Linked DNA regions of Homo sapiens: regions 1 and 2 are each linked to region 3. The links are contacts of gene promoters, found by promoter capture Hi-C in blood cells and fetal thymus (Javierre and others, 2016). All regions are on one chromosome and are shown on one strand. The core of a region is centred on a gene start or on the middle of the fragment in contact, and the rest is flanking DNA. Distances in the headings are between cores, read along the strand shown.

Region 1 (3,140 bases), core at 583-3,082, 410 kb before region 3:
GTAGCTGGAATTACAGGCGCCTGCCACTGCACCCAGCTAATTTTTGTATTTTTAGTAGAGACGGGGTTTCATCATGTTGGCTAGGCTAGTCTCAAACTCCTGACCTCAGATGATCCATTGGCCTTGGTGTCTCAAAGTGCTGGGATTACAGGCATGAGCCACCACACTCAGCCTGGTTTAAGCATTTTATATGACTCAACTCATTTAACCCGCCCCAACTCCCTGAGGTATGTTCTGTTAATAGTATCCCCACTTTACAAGTTAATTAAAGCCCAGAAAGGTTAAGGGACCTGCCTGAGGCTGCACAGCAGTACTTGAACCCTGGCTCTCTGGCATTCTCTTAGCTGCTGTGTAGTGGCCCAAAATCAAATGTATTAGATTAGAATTCAGGTTATTGTTTGAAATAGGCCAATTTAAGCTTTTAAAATTTAACCCAATGTTGTTAAACATTTAGAATGTGCACCCTTAAAAATACACCAATTCTGGGCACAGTGGCTCACGCCTGTAATCCCAGCACTTTGGGAGGCCAAGGCAGGCAGATCACTTGAGGTCAGGAGGTTCGAGACCAGTCTGGCCAAACATGGTGAAACCCCATCTCTATTAAAAATATAAAAATTAGCTGGGCACGGTGGCTCACACCTGTAATCCCAGCACTTTGGGAGGCTGACACGGGTGGATCATGAGGTCAGGAGATCGCGACCATCCTGGCTAACACGGTGAAACCCTGTCTCTACCAAAAATACAAAAATTGGCCGGGCGTGGTGGCAGGTGACTGTAGTCCCAGCTACTCGGGAGGCTGAGGCAGGAGAATGGCGTGAACCTGGGAGGCGGAGCTTGCAGTGAGCTGAGATCATGCCACTGCACTTCAGCCTGGGTGACACAGCAAGACTCCATCTCAAAAAATAAATAAATAAGTAAGCCAGGCATGGTGGTGGGCACCTGTAATCCCAGCTACTTGGGAGGCTGAGGCAGGAGAATCTCTTGCACCTGTGAGGTGGAGTTTGCATTGAGCCAAGATTGTGCCATTGCACTCCAGCCTGGACAACAGAGCAAGACTCCATCTCAAATAAATAAATAAATATTAAAAAATAAAAATAAAATACACCAATTCCGCCACTGAGTGTCTCCTTAAGAATGAGCAAGGATGTGCTTAGGACAGAGGAACACTAGCTATGCTATAAGTGCTCATCTGAGGCATAGGCTAAGTGACATGCAGGGTGCATTAGTTAGGTGTTGCTGCATAACAATTTACCCATCCCCCAGTCTGTCAGCTTAAAACATACATTATTATCTGACCTACACCATTTCTGTTGATCAGGAGTCCAGGACTGATTTAGCTGGGTGGTTCTGGCTCAGGGTCTCATGAGATTGCAAACTGTCAGCAGCCAAGTCTGTCACATCTGAAGGTTCGACTGGGGCTGGAGGAGCCACTCCTACTCTGGCTCCCTCATGTGGCTGTTGGTGGGAGGCCTCAGCTCTTTGCCACGTGTGAATCTCCATAGTGCTACTTGAGCATCCTTACAACATGGTGGCTGGTTTTTCCTGGAGTGTGATCCAAAAGAGAGAGACAGAGAGAGAGAGACTGCACTGACTTTTTGTTTGTTTGTTTTGAGACAGGGTCTCGCTCTGTTGCCCAGGCTGAAGTGCAGTGGCACCATCCTAGCTCAGTCCAGTCTTGAAATCCTGGGCTCAAGAGATCCCTCTGAGTAGCTGGGTCTACAAATGTGTGCGTCACCATGCCCAGTTTATTATTTTACTTTTTGGAGTGGCGGGGTCTCACTCTATTGCCCAGGCTGGTCTCGAACTCCTGGGCTCAAGCAAGCCTCCCCGCTGGGCCTCCCAAAGTGCTGGGATTACAGGCGTGAGCCACTGTGCCCACTGCAAACATTTACTCTTCACAACTCTGGTAGCTTCCTTTTCCCCAGAGCATGCTACAGCCACACAGTAAAGCCTTACGTCTATTGAGCACCTGCTATGTGCAGCTTGTGATCAACTCTTTTTGTCCTCACCACAACCAACCAACAACGTAGGTTTCTATTATAATTCTCACTTTGCCGATGAGAAAACGGAGGGGCAGGTTTGTGGAGAGGAAAACCCAAGGCCACACAGTTGGTATGTGGTGGAGCCAGGATTTGAAACTGCGACCCGTTAACTCCTGCCTCGGTTCCCCTCCCTTCTCATTCACTGCAGGGATCACAGTTATAACCCCCTGCTTATGTATGCGCTGGCTTGTTTGATGTCTGTCTACCCAACATAACCTGGCGGGTTTCATGACAGGATGGTATGAGTGCACAGTAAGTGTGTTTGGCTTTGTTTTAATGTTATGGGGTTTTTTTTTTTTAATTATTTACTTATTTTGAAAGAGAGTCTCACTCTGTCACCCAGGCTGGAGTGCAGTGGTGCGGTATCAGTTCACTGCCACCTCCACCTGTTGGGTTCAAGCAATTCTGCTGCCTAAGCCTCCCGAGTAGCTGAAAATACAGGCATGGGTCACCATGCCCAGCTAATTTTTGTGTGTGTATGTGTGTGTGTGTGTGTGTGTGTGTGTGTGTGTGTGTATTTTTAGTAGAGATGGAGTTTCCCCATGTTGGCCAGATTGGTCTCGAACCCCTGACCTCAGCTGATCCACCCGCCTCAGCCTCCCAAATGCTGGAATTACAGGCTTGAGCCGCCACGCCCAGCCTGTTTTTATGTTGAGACAGGGTCTCCCTCTGTCACTCAGGCTGGAATGCAGTGGCACAATCATAGCTCACTGAAGTCTCCAACTCCGGGGCTCAAGCAATCTTCCTGCTTCAGCCTCCCAAGTACCTGGGACTACAGATGCATACCATCACACCTGGCTAATTTTTTTCAGTATTTTTTGTAGAGACGGGGACTAGTTATGTTGCCCAGGCTGGTCTCAAACTCCTGGGCTCAAGCGATCCTCCTGCCTTGGCCTCCCAAAGTGCTGGGATTACAGGCATGAGCCCTTACACCTGGCTGAATTTTGTTTTTCTGTTCCCTGTTGCCTAGCACATGATACCTGCTTACCATTAATAAATGCACTAAAAACACAATGGTTGAGTTTAGAACCAGACTGTCCCAGGTTTGAAACCGGTTTATAACATTGAATGGCTGTGTGTCCTTGAGCCAGCAGCTGA
Region 2 (3,014 bases), core at 334-2,833, 380 kb before region 3:
GGATGGATGGGTGGATGGGTGAATGGATGGGAAGGTGGATGGATAGATGGATAAAGGGATGAAGGGAGTGGTGGATAGATGGATGGATGGATGGATGGATGAATAGAGGGAAGGATGGGTGAATGGATGGGAAGGTGGATGGATAGATGGACAAAGGGATGAAGGGAGTGGTGGACAGATGGATGGATGGATGGATAGAGGGATGGATGGGTGGATGGGTGAATGGATGGGAAGGTGGATAGATAGATGGATAAAGGGCTGAAGGGAGTGGTTGATAGATGGATGGATGGTTGGTTGGCTGCATGTGTGGGTGGATCAATGGGTAGGTGGAGCCTGAAGACAGAAGTGGCTGCCCTGAGTGTGAAGGCAAAGGCACAGCCCTGGGAAGCCCCCACATCAGGGCCAGGAAGAGGAGATTTGGGGAGGAAGCAGGAACTGTGCCAGTTGCCCCTGTAACTGCCTCTCTGTGAGGCCTCCCCACCCAAGTCCTTTCCTCTACCCCTCTTCCCCAGAAATGGCTTTGGGACTTGAAATCCCCGCCCCCCGCCCCACACCCCACCACACACACACACATGGCTCAGCTCTGGGGGGCCTACCGCAGACAAATCAGTGGAAAATTAAAATAGTGCCTGTGCACTGGTGATCGGCGGCTTCAGCCGGGCACTTAATGATCCCTTTCTGGGGATTGTTACCAGCTGGAGGTGGCGGGGGGGTGGGGGGTCTTCACCAGCCACCCAATCTGAGCAGTAGGGGGTGGTCCCTGGGAGAGGGGGTGCAGCCCACAAAGCCAGAAGTTGGCAGTGATGGCAAAGCTGGGAAGGGCTTAGGCAGGGAAAGGGATGACCTTGAGCTCCGGGGATGAACCCACTTGGACCCCTGCACCCCTGTGGCCCCTGCTGGGACGTCCTTTCTCTCTCAGTTTGGCTAGATGGCTCCAGCTCATCTTGTAGTTCTCAGGTCCAATGTCACCACCTCCAGGAAGCCCTCCTGGACTAGGTCAAATCCCCTCAGAAGTATCTAACCATCCTTATCTATAATCCTATTTGCCTGGAGGCCTTGAGAGCAAAACCTCACTTTGCCACATTAGCTGTGTGTCCTTGGGGAAGTCACTTTCCCCCTCTGTGGCTTGTTTTCCTCATTTGTAAAATAAGGCTGTTAGGAGAATTTTTTTTCTTTTTTAGAGACAGGATGTGACTCTGTCATCCAGGCTGGAGTGCGGTGGCACGATCACAGTTCACTGCAGCCTCAAATTCCCTGGGTTCAAGCGATCCTCCCACCTCAGCCTCCCAAGTAGCTGAGACTACAAGTGTATGCCACCATGCTTGGCTAATTTTTTAGTAGAGATGGGAGGTCTCAGTATGTTGCCCAGGCTGGTCTCGAACTCCTGACCTCAAGTGATCCTCCCGCCTCGGCCTCCCAAAGGGCGGAATTACAGGCATGAGCCATCTCGCTGGGCCCCTGTTGGGAGGATTAAATGAACAATTGTGGGTAAACTGGTATTTACTGAGCCTTTATTATGTACTGGGCACAGGGTTGAATCTGGTCCTCAAATTCTCAAAATAAGCCAATCAATGCCAGCAAGATGTTCATCCCCATTTTAGGGAGAGAGTCACTGAGGCCCCTAGGAATGAGATAAATTCACTTAATACCGTCACTGTGTGCCCGGACCAGTTCAGTTCCCTCTGCTCTCACCCCTCACAGTCTGTCCTCCCCACAGCAGCCACCAGAGGGCGCCTGTGAGCACCTGGATCAGGTCCTGTCCCTCCTCTACCTACAACCCTCCATGGCTCCTACCTCCCTCAGGGTCAAAGCCCAAGTCCTCCCCATGGTCCACATGACCTGCCCCATCCTCTCCCTGCCCTCCCTTCTTCCCTCTCTTCCCACTAACTCTCTCTGCTGCAGCCACACGGGCCTCCTTGCTGTTCCTCCAACATGCCAGGCGTGGTCCTGCCCCAGGGCCTTTGCACAGGCTGTGCCTTCTGCTCAAGATGCCCTTCCACCTCCCCTTAGACAAACTGGCTGTGCCTCCTCCATCTGGCCTCAACTCAAATGGCATCCAGAACACCCCTCCCCCAACTAAAGGAGGTCCTCCTGCTGTAGTGTCTGACCCAGCCCCATTCTTGTGAATGTAACAGACACACACACACACACACACACACACACACACACACACACACACACACACACTGCAGTCATGCTGTATGTGACTTGGCAGGCGTCTCTGTTCCTCACTCAACTGCAGGGAGGGAGATACTTCTGTCCTAGCCTTCTCAGGGCCTCTAGCACCCCACATCAGAGAGCATGGCTCATAATTGGCACTGAAGGACCAGGCGCAGTAGCTCACACCTGTAGTCCCAGCAGTTTGGGAGGCCGAGGCAGGTGGATCACCTGAGGTCAGGAGTTTGAGAGCAGCCTGACCAACATGGTGAAACCCCATCTCTACTAAAAATACAAAAATTAGCTTAAAAATACAAAAATTAGCTGGGTGTGGTGGCAGGCAAGTGTAATCCCATCTACTTGGGGGGCTGAAGCAGGAGAATCACTTGAACCTGGGAGGTGAAAGTTGTAGTGAGCCGAGATCGTGCTGCTGCACTCTAGCCTGGGTGACAAGAGTGAGACTCCCATCTAAAAAAAAAAAATCTCTATCAGTATGGATTTGTACAGATTAATGTTATACTTTGGTTTCTAATCCAATTATGTGTACACACACACACATTATATATATATCCTCAACAACAGCAAACATTATAGAAATATTTGCAATGTACTTGCAAAAGAATTTTACTGGGCAACAAATATGTAAAGAGTTCCTACAAATCAATAAGAAAAGATCAACTGAAAAAATATGCAAAGGATATGAACACATCACCACAGAAAATACCTAAAAGTAATAAAAATGGACTTTAAATCTGTGAGAAAATGGCTGGGCACAGTGCCTCACACCTGTAATCCCAGGACTTTGGGTGGCCGAGTTGGGAGGATTCCTTGAGCTCAGGAGTTTGAGACCAGCCTGG
Region 3 (3,175 bases), core at 233-2,732:
ATTGAGATAGGATCTTGCTCTGTCACCCAGGTTGGAGTGCAGTGGCACAGTCATAGCTCTCTGCAGCCTCAACCTCCCAGGGTCAATTGATCCTCCCACCTCAGCCTCCTGAGTTTCTGGGACTACAGGTGTGTACCACCACATCTGGCTAATTTTTAAAAAAGTTTTCTGGGCTGGGCGTGGTGGCTCACGCCTGTAATCTCAGCACTTTGAGAGGCCAAGGCAGGCGGATCACCTGAGGCCAGGAGTTCAAGACCAGCTTGGCCAATATGGTGAAACTCCGTCTCTACAAAAATACAAAAATTAGCTGGGCATGATGGCTGGTGCCTGTAATGCAATCCCAGCTACTCGGGAGGCTGAGGCAGGAGAATCACTTGAAACCGGGAGGCAAAGGTTGCAGTGGGCCGAGATCAAGCCATTGCACTCCAGCCTGGGCAACATAGCAAGACTCTGTCTCAAAAAAATAAAAAAAAAATAAAATAAAAACAAAAAACAAAACAAAACCAACAACAGCCAGCAGCAACAACAAAAAAACTTTTCTAGGCCAGGCTCGGTGGCTCACGCCTGTAATCCCAACACTTTGGGAGGCCGAGGCGGGCAGATCACTTGAGGTCAGGAGTTTGAGACCAGCCTGGCCAACATAGGAAAACCCCGTCTCTACTGAAAAAAAAAAAAAAAATTAGCTGGGCGTGGTGGTGCACGCCTGTAATCCCAGCTACTTGGGAGGCTGAGGCAGAAGAATCACTTGAACCCAGGAGGCGGAGGTTGCAGTGAGCCGAGATCGCGCCACTGCACTCCAGCCTGGGTGACAGAGGGAGACTCCATCTCAAAACAAACAACAAACAAAAGATATATAAAAATTTTTCTAGAGATGGGTTTCACCGTGTTACCCAGGCTGGTCTCAAATTCCCAGGCTCAAGTGATCCTCCCACCTCGGCCTCCCAAAGTGCTGGAATTACAGGTGTGAGCCACCACACCTGACCCTTTCTTGTTTTTTAGATGAGGACAGCAAGAAGCCCCTGTAATTTGCCCAAAGCCACACAGCGGGGAAGTGGCAGAAGCTTCTGTACGTAGGAACCCAGTCACTTCGTAGCAGAGAGGCAGACTGCGCACAGATCTGCGTGGGGAAGGGAGTGCGCCAAGCCACAGCCTGATGGGCCGGCGTGCCTGGCAGGAGGCTCAGCAAGCACAGAGACTGGGCAGCTCCAGATGCAAGAAGCAGGAGGGAGGGGGACTCCGGGAGTGCGGTCCATTCATGTCTGAATGTAGCCAACGAGGGTTTCCTAAGCACCTACCATGTGCGGACGCTTGATACCAGGGCCTCGGCGGTGAGGGCACAGGCAGGAGCAAGCTCACCTCTGGGCAAGCAGGGGTTAAGGCCAGTTGCTCCCACGTGAGGGCACCTTGCGACAGAGCCACACACCCAGTCCTCCTGCTGGCCCGCCCCTCACCCTGGTCCGTCTCCCTGTGTCTGTGGTCGTCAGTTCCACTGGCAGGGGACCTGCCTCCCTGTTGCCACCACAAGAGAGGAAAAGTTGGTCAAACAGGTGGGGAGGCCAGAGCTACAAGCCTCGGGTTCCCTCCCCACCACCCGTGCCAGGCAGGCACCCGGGCCCTGGCACCTGCTGCCTGCCCAGAGGCCACCCAGCCTCCTAGACAGGTAAGTCCCCCGCCCCACTGTGCTTTTCCACCCAGTGTGCATTGTCTGAGCTGGCCTTCCCCAGCTGAGGGTCCTTAGACTCCCCCCCAACCTCCCCCACCACGAGCTGTCTCCCCGGCTCCTCGGAAAGCAGGAAACTGACACTCCTGCGTGGGCATCTGACATAGTTTCGTAGGGATTATCTGACCGGCAGTTACTGCACCTGGCGGCCTGCCCAGGACGCTGAGCTGGAAACTTAAAAGGGTCATTGTTACCTAGGTGGCGCAGGGACCGGGGAGGCGGCAAAGGGGCACAGGTTGGTCTCTGATCCCCCTAACTGAGGAGGGGAGGGGATATCAGTCCAGACGGAGCCTGGGTTTACCTCCTGCAGCCCGAGGCTAGGAGGTGACAGGTGGGAAAGGCTGCGACCTCACTCATCTCTGAGCCTCCTGGAACTTCTTAAAAGGCTCCCAAGTTTTGAAACAACTGCGTCTCCCGCCCCCCAACCCCTCACCCTGTTCTCACCGCTGGAACCTCCAGGAGCTTTGCAGGGAGGGATTGGGGTGGCCTTTCTTTTGCTAATTTTTTTTTTGAGACGGAGTTTTGCTCTTGTTGCCCAGGCTGGAGTGCAGTGGTGCGATCTTGGCTCACTGCAACCTCTGCCTCCACCTCTGCCTCCCGAGTAGCTGGGATTACAAGCGCCCACCACTATGCCCAGCTAATTTTTGTATTTTTAGTAGAGATGGGGTTTCACCATGTTGGCCAGGCTGGTCTCGAACTCCTGACCTCAGGTGATCCAACCCCCTCGGCCTCCCAAAGTGCTGGGATTACAGGCGCAAGCCACTGCGCCCAGACTTCTTTTTCTAATCTTTACTCCTCCGAGCAAAATCTCTGTGGGATGGGGCAGAGGGGAAGGAGGAAGGAGCGCTCAGAGCCAGAGAGGGGAGGGGTCGGCAGCAAAAGTGTTTTTCTGGGTCATTTGCTCCCAAATGGGAAGACCAAGGGAGCTTCCTCGTGAGCCAAGTGTCCGATTGCATCTCAAGTCTCTCTCCAGAACCAAGAGGGTCCCCCGGGGCCGAGGAGGCATGGATGATCGCATAGTGGGGGACAGAGCGGCCCGGCATTTGGGGTCACCTTGTGGCTGTGTGGCTGCAGAGCTCCCAGGGAGCAGGCTTGCTTGAGATTCGGGAGTCCGTGGGGGTGGGCGACATGGATCCCACCTTGCCTGGGTTTTGAGAGCAAACCCGTGGACTCAGTTAGATCTGGCTTCCACACCTCCCTTCTCTCCGGGCCTCTGTTTCCTGCTCTGTAAAATGGGGATATTGAGGGCCGGGCGCGGTGGCTCACGCCTGTAATCCCAGCACTTTGGGAGGTCGAGGCGAGTGGATCACAAGGTCAGGAGTTCGAGACCAGCCTGGCCAACATGGTGGAACCCTGTCTCTACTAAAAATACAAAAAATGAGCCGAATATGGTGGCAAGCACTTGTAATCCCAGCTACTCCGGAGGCTGAGGCAGGAGAATTGCTTGAACCCAGG

What was found. Contacts are between HindIII fragments. The CHiCAGO score rates a contact against its expected background, and 5 or more counts as called.
Region 1: a fragment that was not itself captured here is called in contact with the fragment with the promoter of TJP3 in region 3 in 1 of 17 cell types (endothelial precursors); the score reaches 5.4 in endothelial precursors.
Region 2: a contact is called between a fragment that was not itself captured here and the fragment with the promoter of TJP3 in region 3, in 4 of 17 cell types (total B cells, M0 macrophages, naive B cells and 1 more). The highest score is 8.6, in total B cells.

Annotation. Positions count from the first base shown.
Region 1 is chr19:3,301,494-3,304,633 of GRCh38, forward strand. It overlaps LOC105372244 (a long non-coding RNA gene), which reads right to left. Exons shown (of 3, transcript NR_187753.1): 2 at 1,303-1,542. Among named protein-coding and RNA genes, the nearest start is that of NFIC, 64 kb to the right of the region's middle. The HindIII fragment of the contact is 2,833 bases long and covers 417-3,140 here.
Region 2 is chr19:3,322,857-3,325,870 of GRCh38, forward strand. No RefSeq gene overlaps it. Among named protein-coding and RNA genes, the nearest start is that of NFIC, 42 kb to the right of the region's middle. The HindIII fragment of the contact is 5,453 bases long and covers 1-3,014 here.
Region 3 is chr19:3,706,902-3,710,076 of GRCh38, forward strand. It overlaps TJP3 (tight junction protein 3), which reads left to right and starts at 1,483. Exons shown (of 21, transcript NM_001267560.2): 1 at 1,483-1,660. RefSeq lists enhancers at 928-1,591, 1,592-2,253, 3,089-3,175. The HindIII fragment of the contact is 2,818 bases long and covers 1,060-3,175 here.